Linked DNA regions of Homo sapiens: region 1 is linked to region 2. Evidence: promoter capture Hi-C in 16 types of primary human blood cells and fetal thymus (Javierre and others, 2016). All regions are on one chromosome and are shown on one strand. The core of a region is centred on a gene start or on the middle of the fragment in contact, and the rest is flanking DNA. Distances in the headings are between cores, read along the strand shown.

Region 1 (5,947 bases), core at 841-3,340, 550 kb after region 2:
GATACATGCAACATCTGGAATGGATCTTGTAGGCATTATTCTGAGTCAAAAAAAAGTCAGTCTCAAAAGGTTACATACTGCATGAATCTATTCATGTAATATTCTTTTTTTTTTTTTTTTTTTTTAAGATGGAGTCTCGCTCTGTCGCCCAGGCTGGAGTGCAGTGGCGCGATCTCGGCTCACTGCAAGTTCTACCACCCAGGTTCACGCCATTTTCCTGCCTCAGCCTCCTGAGTATCCGGGACTATAGGCGCCTACCACCACGCCCGGCTAATTTTTTTGTATTTTTAATAGAGACAGGGTTTCACAGCGTTAGCTAGGATGGTCTCGATCTCCTGACCTCGTGATCCGCCCATCTCGGCTATTCATGTAATATTCTTAAAAATAATAAAATTATAATGTCAGAGAACAGATCTGTAGTTGCCACGGGCTAGGGATTGGGAGGGAGTTTGATTATAAAAGGATTACACAATGGAGTTTCTTTTGGGTAATGGAACTACTCCATACTCTTACTCTGGTGGTACACATATGAATTTAAATATGTTAAAACTTACTGAACTGTATGCCAAAAATAATTCTACATTAATTTAAAAAATAAAATTTGAGGCAAAAAAAATCTCAGCAAACTAAAAATAGGAGAAAACTTCTGATCAAGAGAATCTACTAGACACCTACCAAGCATTCTTCTAAGAGGTGAACATGAGAATTCCCTTTAAGGTCAATAATGAAATAAGGATAGCCACTATCCGCACTTGGCTCTGTGTATATATATATATATATATACTTTTTTTTTTTTTTTTTTTTTTTTTAGACAGAGTCTCGCTCTTGTTGCCCAGGCTGTAGTGCAATGGCATGATCTCGGTTCACTGCAGCCTCCGCCTCCTGGGTTCAAGCAATTCTCCTGCCTCAGCCTCCTGAGTAGCTGGGATTACAGGCATGTGCCACCATGCCCGGCTAATTTTGTATTTTTAGTAGAGATGGGGTTTCTCCATGTTGGTCAGGCTGGTCTTGAACTCCCGATCTCAGGTGATCCGCCCACCTCGGCCTCCCAAAGTGCTGGGATTGCAGGCGTAAACCACCACACCTGGCCAAAGGTTATAAGTTTTACCTAGGAAATCCAAGACAATCCACAGACAAATCATTAGAATTAATAAGAGAGTTAAGCAAAGTTGCTGGATCTAAGGCTAATAACAAAAATCTATATTGTGTTCCTTTACACCACCAATGTACAATTAGAAAGTATAACTTTTCAAATGACATCTTCTACAATGGCAATACGAATTTATAAAGTGCCAAGGAATAAATCTAGCTAATGCATCAAAACCATTATGAAGAAACTTATAAAATTTTATTAAAAGATAGTAAAGAAGATCAGATATTGATCCTCTTCATGAATAGGAAGACAACAGCATAAAGATGTCAGTTCTCTCCAAATAAAGTTATATATTTTAACTAAGTGTTTGTAAAGCATTTAGAACAGTGCTTGACATATAATAAGTGAGATATAACTGCTGTTGAATAAATAAATCAAAATTCCAACAAAGGTTTTTCATGGAACTTGACAAGCTTGTTCTAAAATTTGTAAGGCAGAACAATGGTCCAAATATAGCCAAAGCAATCTTGAAAAACAGAGGTGGGAGGAAGGATAATGTTCATTCTATCAGATATTAGCACTTAATTATGAAACCATTAAGACAATGTTTTTATTGGCCCAGGAGTAGACAGACTAATGGAATGAAATAGAGTTCTAAAATGTTTGCTATATGAAAACTTGATATAGAACAAGTTACAAATTAGTAGATGCTGGAACTGTTAGTTATCCATATTGGGGAAAAATAAAGTCCTAATTCACACCATTTACATCTTTCAATTCAGGAAGAATAAAGACCTAAACATGAACTGGGAAATGTTATTTCCTCAGGGTATGAAAGGACTCAGACCATAAAGGAAAGGATTGACAAGCAACAACAAAGTGTTTTAAAACATCTGTTTCAGAAGATAAGCAGACTGGGCATAGTAGCTCATGCCTGTAATACCAGCACTTTGGGAGGCCAAGGCAGCAGAATTGCTTGAGGCCAGGGGTTTGAGACCAGCCTGAGCAATGTAGCAAAACCCTATCTTCACAAAACATTTTAAAAACATAAGGCTGAGGTGGAAGGATCGCTTGTGCTCAGCTCAGGAGTTGAGTCTGCAGTGAGTCATGATTGTGCCACTGCACTCTAATATGGGTGACAGAGTGAGACCCTGTCTCTAGAAAAAAAATATATATAGCCAAGCGTGATGGTGTGTGCTCATACTAGCTACTCAGGAGGCTGAGATGAGAGGATTGCTTGAACCTAGGAGTTCTGGGTTGCAATGAGCTATGATTGCACTATTACACTCCAGCCCAAAAGACAGAAGGAGACTCTGTTTCTTTAAAAAAGAAAATCCATAAACAAAGTGCAATACAAACCAGAGAGCAGAAGAATATATTTATAACCAACAAAATACTAGTATACAAAATACAAAAAGAACCCTGTAAGTCAATACAAAGCAACAAATAATGTAATACTTTTTAAAATTAGATAAAGTAGATAAACAGGCAACTCACAAAAGTGGAAACTAAAATGGATAATAAGCTTTTTTAAATGCTCAACTTTACTTTACTAATAATCAGGAAAATGAAAAACTAAAACCACAATGAAATAGCATCAAATTAAGTATAGCAATGTTCTTTAGAGGACAGGGAGAGAAATGAGACCAGAAAGTAGGTCACAGAGAGCTCTGACTATATTTGTAATTGTGACAATCACTAGAACCATTCACAAACATTTAGGTTCCACTCCTTTTAGGCACATGGTAGGATTGTTCTTCCTCACACCTTTAAGCTAGGCAAGTATATGTGATTTGCTTCTGCCAAGGAAATGTATGCAGAGATGTCACTTGTAGATGGAAACCTTTAAGAGCCAGCATGCAATTCAGCATCTCTCTTTCCTTTTGTCACAATCTCTCAGTGACTGACAACAATGCTGTCAGCCTGGATCCTGAATTGGGCCCCCTGCCACCCCATGTATAGGCATGCACCATGAGTTAGAGGTTTGTTTGTGTGGATTTTTTGTTGTTTGTTTGTTTTAAGCCACTTACATGTGAAAGCTGTTTGTTACGGCAGCATAAGCTAGCCCATTCTGAGAGTTACCTTTTATTCCTTTAACTGGGTGGAGGGTAGGTGTATGCACATTATATTATTCACTGTACTTTGTGGATATAAAATATTTCATAATTTTTAAAGAACAGTTTATGGTAATGAATGATTATCTGGATTAAATATAAGACATACATGCCTCCATTCTACAAATATTAACTGAGGGCTTACTATATGCTAGGCACTCTTCCATGTGCTAGGGATTCAACAGTGAACAAAATGGTAAGTCCCAGATTTTGCAGAGCTTACAAGAGGAAAGGCAGAAAACAAACAGATACATATTTAATATGTCAGATGGTGTTGTTTACTATGATAAAAAATAAAGCAGGGTTAAGGGTATAGAGAGGAGGAAAGTATTATTTTAAACAGTGTGGTCAACAAAGTCTCTGACACAGAAACATCTGAGCTGGTGAAAAGAATGCAGGGATTTAGGAGAGGGAGGAGAGACAGTAAGGGGCAAAAATTTTACTAAAAAAGGTGAGGACTCTTGTGTCTGGAGCTGAATGAGAGAGCTAGGAACAAGACAAGATGGGGTCCTCCAGACCATAGAAGGCCACCAGGGGGTTTGGAGCAGAGCAGGGATATGACCTGACATGTTTTTAAAGGGTCATTCTGGCTGCTGTGGCAAGAATCTTTAAGAATTGGTGGGTGGAAGCAGGGAGACCACTTGGGAGGCTAATACAAGATTCAGTCAAGAGAAAATAGCGATTTGGTCAAAAAGGAGAGCTGAAGGTGGTGAGACATGATCCACTTCAGGATTATGGGTGGGACAACAGAATCTGTGGTTGGGTTGGATATGTAGTATGAGGAAAGAGGCAGGTCAAGGATGACTGTAAAGCATTGGCCTGAGCAACTGCAAGAACGGAGATGCCATTATCTGAGTAGAAAAGACTGGAGGAAGGGCAAGTTGGGGGAGAGGGCCGGACCAATTTGGTTTATCTATGTTCTGTCTGAGAGTCCTATTAGAATTCCAAATGGTGGCATCAAATAGTCAATTAGATACATGAGCCTGGAGTTCAGGGGAAAAGTTCAGGCTACAGTAGTCAGCCTGCAGCTGGTATTTAAGCCATGGACTGAATTAGCTCACTTACAACATAAATGTAGATAGAGAAGCCACCCAAGGAATTAACCTTGACGCAGCACAGCCAACCTAGAAGGAGCCTCCACTGAAGAAGAACCAAGAGTTGTACCTCATACCCAAGTGAAGAAGATGTTTTAAGAAGGAGGGAGTGGCCAACCATGTCAAATGCTGCAGGGTGTCAAATATGATGGCTTCTGGATTTGGCCAATGTGGAGGTATTGGGTGATCCTGACAAAAGCAATGCCATTGGAGTTGTGGTGGGGTGCAGGACTGGTGTAGACTGAAGAGAGAAAACTGAGTCTCCATGTAAAAAAAAATTATGTTAAGAAATTTTTCTACAAAAGATATCTAAGAAATGGGGCAATCACTAGAGGAGACGGTTATGTCAATACATGGTTTCTTTTTAAAAATGGAGGCCATTAGAGCATATATGCATGTGGGTAAGAATAATCCAGTGGAAAATGAATAATCAGTCATGCAGTGGGGGGGCAGCACTTGCAAGCAAAGTTCCTGAGAAGGTGAGAGAAGATAGGATCCATTTCACCAGTAAGGATGCTAGCCTCAGCCACCGCCTATCTGCTGTATCCACAGAGAGGAGATGGGTAGACACAGCAAGTGATGGAAACAAATGCAGAGTATGTGAGTGCAGATGCAGGGAGGGTGGGAGATACAGCAAGGGGAGCATGTGGAAGTTCTCTTCTGATTGCTTCTACCTTCTCAGGGGGATAAGAATCAAGGTCATCAGCAGAGAATGGGAAGAGTGGGCAAATTTTGAGAATATAAAATAGTTGTCTCTCAGAGTGGGAGAATGCACTGACCAAGATTTGCCAGATAGCACAAGGATCCATTATAAGATTTGTGGTCATGAATTTTTAAATGAGGCAGTAAGCATGGTTTACCTGGATTTGGGGTTTGCCAAGCAAATAGAGGGGAGAGAGAGTTGAAAAGGTATGCAAGGGAGTGATTGTAATGGTAGCCCATGAAAACAAAATGGGTAAGGAGGGAACTTAGAGTCTGATAGGGCTGATGGACAATGAAGATAGGTTCAAGAATTCGGAGTTCCCAGGGGGTTGAACAATTGTTGAAGGTGGGCATCTAGAAGGAATGAGCTGGGAGCAAAGAAAGGAGTAGTCAATGAGATGTTGCTAATGGGGTTATTGGAAGGGATGCAATTATTGGTAAAAGCCTAGGGTATGCCCATGGAAGCAAGTAGCTAAGAAGGCAAGATCATTCGAGGTGAGGAAGTCGGTTAATGAAAAGAGAAGGGTATTGGGAGGATTGTCTCTTTGGTAAATCAAAATCACCAAAAACTATGACAAAAATGGTGGCCTGGGTGCAAATGTCTTCGAGGAACAATTGGAGGTAGCATATAGGTAACCATAACAAAGAGGGGTGGTGGGTGGCAGAGACTGGTGGCAGGAGCTTTAAAAGAGCTGTGGGGGCTTCTAAGGAGGATGCAAGAACAATGGCCCAAAGCAGCCATGAGAAGGGAGAAGTTCATCTATGAGCCTCTGGGCTTGGGGGCCATGGGAGAATAAAACTGCCAGTGGAAATAGTGTCCTCCAAAGACAACCCAGTTTTAGTTGAAGCAAAAGGGTAAAGTGGCCATTCAGTGAAAATGTTGAGGACACAAGGGATTTTGTCTATGAGAGAATGAGAGCTGTACAAGGCCCTGTGGAAGGTTT
Region 2 (5,717 bases), core at 2,026-4,525:
ATACATCAAAGGGCTCTTGGACTACAAATCATGCCATGGACACAACGGCTCCTTGCACTTATGCTGGGAGCGCTGTAGGCTGAGGGTCTATGACTTCAGCACTGCACATATGTGGTTGTTATTTAGAACTCTCCAAGGTATAGATTTACATTACCATCTGCCCTGTCAGTTGCTGTTTACATCTGCCTTAAAAGGGGGAGGGGCATAATCAATTAAAGAGTATGTACGAAGCCCTGGGAAAAATCAGCAACAGCAACAACAGCCCGAACTTGGGAGTAGTAGACATGTCTATTCAAAGGGGAAATCAGGGATTCATACTCTTCTGTCTTTGAAAATATTCCCTTTGAACTGTGGAAATTAAGTGACAAAAGGATTTGTTAAAATCTACAGGCTGGAATATGCTTAACACAATTAAGCTTCTCCAAAGAGCCTCAGAAAAATCTAAATTATATATTTTAAAATTCATTAATGATGAATTGGACTTTATAAAAATTTAAAAGCTATGCTTTGTGAAAGACTCCATGAAAAGATTAAAAATACAAACAGCAAACTGGGAGAAAGTATTTGCAACCCATATTTCTAATAAAGAACTAGTATCTGGAATATCTAGGATCCAGTTCAAAACTCAACAGTAATATAAAAAGTCCCATTAGAAGGTAGACAAGAGACATGAAGTAACATTTCACCAGAGAAACTACGCAGATGACAAATAAGCACATGAAAAAATGTTTAGCATAATTAGTCATGCACAGAATGCAAATTAAAACCATGACGAGATATTACTACTGAACCTACCTCTGAGAATGGCTTTTTAAAAATACTGGCAACACCAAATTCTGGTGAAGATACAGAGAAACTGGACCCTTCGTACATTGCTGGTGGGAATGGGAAATGCTACAGCCGCTTTGGTGTTATTGTAAAAGGAAACATGCAATTGTCAGTAATTACTCTTCTGGGCATTATCCCAGAGAAATTAAAAATTATGTTCACGCAAAAGCCTCTCTACATGAATGTTCATAGCAGCTTTATTTGTAATAGCCAAACATTGGTAACAATCCAGGTGTATATACAAGATGTCACACCAACTGTGGTCCATTCTATGGAATACTATTCAGCAATGACAAAGAACAAATTATTGACACACACAACAACCTGAATGGATCTCTAGGGAATAATGCTGAGTGAAAAAAAAAAAGCCAAACCCAAAAGGCTACCTACTGTATTATTCCATTATTAAAACATTCTTGAATTGACAAAATTATAGAAATGGAGAATAGATTCATGGTTGCCGAGTTTAAAAAGTGATTGGGAGCAGGAGGTTAGGAAGGAACGGAGGGGGGCATGGCTATATAACGGCAAGATAAGGGAGGCTTGTGGTGACAGAAATGTTCTGTATATATTCATGTAAATATCAACATACTGGTTTTGATATTGTAGGATAGTTTCATAAGATGTTACCATTGGATATAACTGCTTACGTATAGGAGATCTCCCTGTATTATCCCTCACAACGACATGTAGATCTATTACCTCAAAACAGTTTAATTCAAAAGAAGAATTCAAGGATTTCAGAAGGAAAGTATATCTTTTCCACTCAAGTGTGGACTGAAGATGCTGCTAACTCATTGGCCAACAAGGCTGTTGTTAAGAAGATAAAGTAAGGCAGGGTTTAATGCCTAGGTGATGGGTTGATAGGTCCAGCAAACCACCATGGCACACGTTTACCTATGTAACAAACCTGCACGTCCTGCACATGTGTCCCAGCACTGAAAATAAAATAAAATTTAAAAAATGAAGAAGATAAAGCAGGCAGTTTTGAACACAGACCTGCTTCTAGGCCCTGTCCCTCAACATCTAGGGCCTTCCCTTCCTAGACAAGAGCATCACCTTTCAGCAACCCTCATCTCTTCCCAGGAGGTCCCAATAAGGATCAACACAAAATGGAACAGGCAAAGAAGTCCATTCTCTGCTTATCTGTTACCATGGCAAAAGTCTAACCCTAGGAGTCAACCTCTTGGTGAGTTTACTATGGTTCTAGCCCTGTTATTTGGGATCCTGGCAAGTGGGAGGGAGGCACCAACAAACACATTGCCAGTGGCAAGCAGGCAGTTGAAACCAAGGGGTTGCCAGGGACCTGCTCTGCAGGGAACCTCAGGTAAGACTGGAAAAAATATGGATGTGTGGATGGTGCTCACGTATCTTCTGTGAGAACATATTTCTTGGGCATCACTGGGTGGTCCATTGGCTGCTATCAGGGGGTCTGGAGCCCTTCTAGTGGGTCCTGATACCTACCTGATCTCCCAGACTGGCCTTCCTGCTTTGGAGTCAAAACTGCTGCTCCTCCAAACCCCAGTGGGCTCTCCTCCAGTGAGCAGACCCAAAACATAGAACCTTCCTCTCCAAAAGACAGCATGTCTCCCGCCTCTCCCACCTTGCTTAAACATCCACTCTTGAGTGCCTACGTATTCCTAATATTGGTACATTTGGCTTTGTTCCTTTGAAGGAGGAAATTTTTTCTGGCCTGCACACTATAACCTATAGAGTTGGGGGCTGCTTTCTTTGCTATGTGCTGTTTGAAATGCTCTCTTTGCTGAGAGGTATTGCAAAGTGGTTACAAGCGTGGACCCTAGCATTTCATTACCCCATTCAAACCCTAGCTTCACCATGTGGGGAGACCTTGGTCAGATGATTTGGTAACTCTTGAGCCCCAGCTTCCTCATCAATAAAATGGGATGATGACTGTAGCTCATCTCACAAGGTTGGCCTGAGGGTTAAGTAAGTAGATATGTGTGAAGTCTCTAGAAGAGTGTCTGGCATTTTGGTAGCCTTACATAAATGTTAGCAGTAGCTACCCTTCTCTTCCTCCTCATGATAGTACTTTGAGAAGCAGCAATAGTGATTGAAAGTACTCTGGATTTAAACTTAAATAGCTTTGAGAGTCGAAATTAGCTGTGGCCTCTCTTGGGCATATCACTTAACTTCTTGTGCCTCAGTTTCCATATTTACAAAATCAGGCCAAAAAAAATCTATCGCATGGGAATTCAATGATGTAGCTGGTTTGTCTGAATTTCTCTGGTGTGCACACCGGAAACTCAAAGCACGACTCTATACTGTACTTTTGTAATGTACAATGATTGCCGTGGAGAGCAGCGATGGAGATGTTAGTCCTCTTTCCTTCTCCATCCCCCTTGCCCTGGTGCCTGTGAAACAGAGCATCCCCATGGCAACAGCAGCAGCTGGTCCCTAGATAAGAGGAGCTGGAGCCGGCCAGCAGCAGCCACTGCCGCAGAGGAGCCAGGCCCAGCCTCGGTGAGCACACACGCCCTCCCTGTCTCTCGCCTTCGCTTCCCTGCATCTGCGCTGATTGGTAAGTGCTTCAGATTTTTACTCCAAGAACTTTTGTGGTGAGAAAAGCAAGTTTCCAGTCAGTTACTGGGACAAAGAAGGCTGTAGCTGGTGGCACGGGGTTGTGCTTTATGGAGCAAGGCTAAGCTGGGGCCGAGTGGACAGCAGAAAAAGTTACCACTTTCAAGTCATTCTTCCAAGGGAGGGAATGGAGTTCTGTAAAAGACTGAACCCTCACAAACTCATTTGCAAAGTTTCAAGATGAAGTTGGTGTATCTGCATATTCACACAGGATAGAGAGGTTTATCTTCCAAGGCTGGGGAAAGTACAGAAAGTATGCTTCTCAAAACACATTCTCCATGCCCTACTTTAAGTCAGTCTCTCCTCCAGGAATACTGCCAATTTAGGTTTTCTAAATGAACAAATCTGATTTTAAAAGACGGTACTTTTTGACCTGAATTCAATCCTCTGGTTAAAAAGAGGTTTGACAATGAATATGTATTTTACATAGCCAGAGGGTGCATTAACGAGATACCACATAGGCTGTGGATACAACCTTCTACCCTTTTATTCCATCCAGTAAATCAAGACCTGATTACTTTGGGGGATATTCTTCAGAATACCGTATGGTAAGCTAAGTGTCAACTCGCTTCTGAGAATCAGTTCTATTATGTTCCCAAGATTTAGAAATGGGTTGGTTTTTGTCTTGAACTATTCTCATCTCATTACCAGCTTCAGAGAAGGCCAGAGATGGGATAAAGAGATAATTCTGATAGATCAATTTAGATAGACATATAATCACAAATGGAGGACTGAAAGATCCAAGAAGGTCCCTCACACTCACGAAAATATCAGTGTGTAGGACCTGGGCTCGGGACTCCATGCACATTCTATGGGTAATACTCTCAACAACCCTGGAGAAGAGCCACTATCTTCCCCCATTTAACAGATTTGAAAACTAAATTTTTGAGAGAACAGATAACTGTCCCAAGTTCACCCAGCTAGAGAGTGGTACAAGCAGCCAAACGTTGGCTTCTACCTTATATTGACTCACAGCATCCAATCTTAAAGTTGAGAGGAATTTTCTTCCCATAATTTAAACCGCATATTCTCACATCCAACTGAGAAAACCGCTCAATGATAAGAGAAAAGACAAAAAATCCAGACCAGCTTCTGACCACACACTGAACCAACTAATGTGTTTCAGCTCCGCTGGTGTGCCTGCCTTTCTGCAATATAGTGGGGTCCCTTTTCTGGCACCCAGTTCCTTCCCCCTTTCAGTTCCTGTTCTCAAAAGAGAAGGTGACCTTTGTCATTAACAATCCCTGTGTATTGTGACATCAATTTACATATTGCTGCTCTTAGTGGTATTTGCATTTACAAGTATCTCTCTGTAAAAAGAAAGGTTTTGTCCCTTGTGAAAAGGAAGGTAAGGATTAGTAAGAGGAAGTTACAAGAGTTTAAAATCTGAAATCCTGAAATCCTTTCTCAAACCCTGAAATCATATCTCTTGGTCTCTTGCATACTACACTGAATACCTACATTCTGTCAAACAACCACAACCAGAAGAGTAATTCGATCAATACTCTTTCATTCTCTAATTAAGAAATCTGAAACATTTTGAAAACCAAAAGGTTTGTTGTTAAGTTCAACACAAACTCATTTGGTAGCAAAGCCTGACCTGAAAGAATGTGAATTTTTTGTGGTTTGTCTTTATGTCACTTAGTGTGAATATTCATAGTTTTGCTGCAGAAATAATGGATGTGACTGCTGGTGCTCCTTGAGACCCCTCTAGAGCTGTTATATAATTTAAACAGTCCTGATTTCCACAGCACGTTTGACTCCAGGCTTGTCACAAGGGTGGGTGGCCAATATTGCAATGACAGTGGCAGTCCACGTCCCTGTGTGAGTGTTAGAATTCAGAGCCCACACTGAACCAATAAGTGGAAAGAGGATGTTAAAAAGGTCACAAGTCTTTGTAGTAGACACAGTTTATGAAAACACCCCCAAATGTGAAGTATTAGACAACAAGCCTCTCTGGAGGCCCTAGCTTTTTGGTTGAATTCTGAAGATGCAGAGGACCAACTATGCAGGCATGAAAGAAAGAGCTGGTGCCTTAGAAAGTTCCCAAGTTACAGGGAGATGATGAAACCTTCCCTGGGCAGCCCAACAAGTGCAGCATCCCTTTATGACACCTGCTTGGGGTAGAGACTGAATTAAAGAGAGGAAGGCGTGGGTAGAGTCAGGAATAGGAAATGGAAATATTCCATTTCCTATGTCAAGAATTAGACCGGCTCATGTCTTAAAACAGCTCACTCATAAAGAGCGCCCCTTCTCACTGAGGATAGAAATGGAGAGTGAGTTGAGAGATG

What was found. Contacts are between HindIII fragments. The CHiCAGO score rates a contact against its expected background, and 5 or more counts as called.
Region 1: a contact is called between a fragment that was not itself captured here and the fragment with the promoter of PPP1R17 in region 2, in 1 of 17 cell types (neutrophils). The highest score is 7.7, in neutrophils.

Annotation. Positions count from the first base shown.
Region 1 is chr7:32,236,980-32,242,926 of GRCh38, forward strand. It overlaps a transcript of PDE1C not described here. Among named protein-coding and RNA genes, the nearest start is that of PDE1C, 170 kb to the left of the region's middle. The HindIII fragment of the contact is 1,052 bases long and covers 1,565-2,616 here.
Region 2 is chr7:31,683,940-31,689,656 of GRCh38, forward strand. PPP1R17 (protein phosphatase 1 regulatory subunit 17) reads left to right here and starts at 3,276. Exons shown (of 5, transcript NM_006658.5): 1 at 3,276-3,367. It also overlaps a transcript of PDE1C not described here. The HindIII fragment of the contact is 9,056 bases long and covers 415-5,717 here.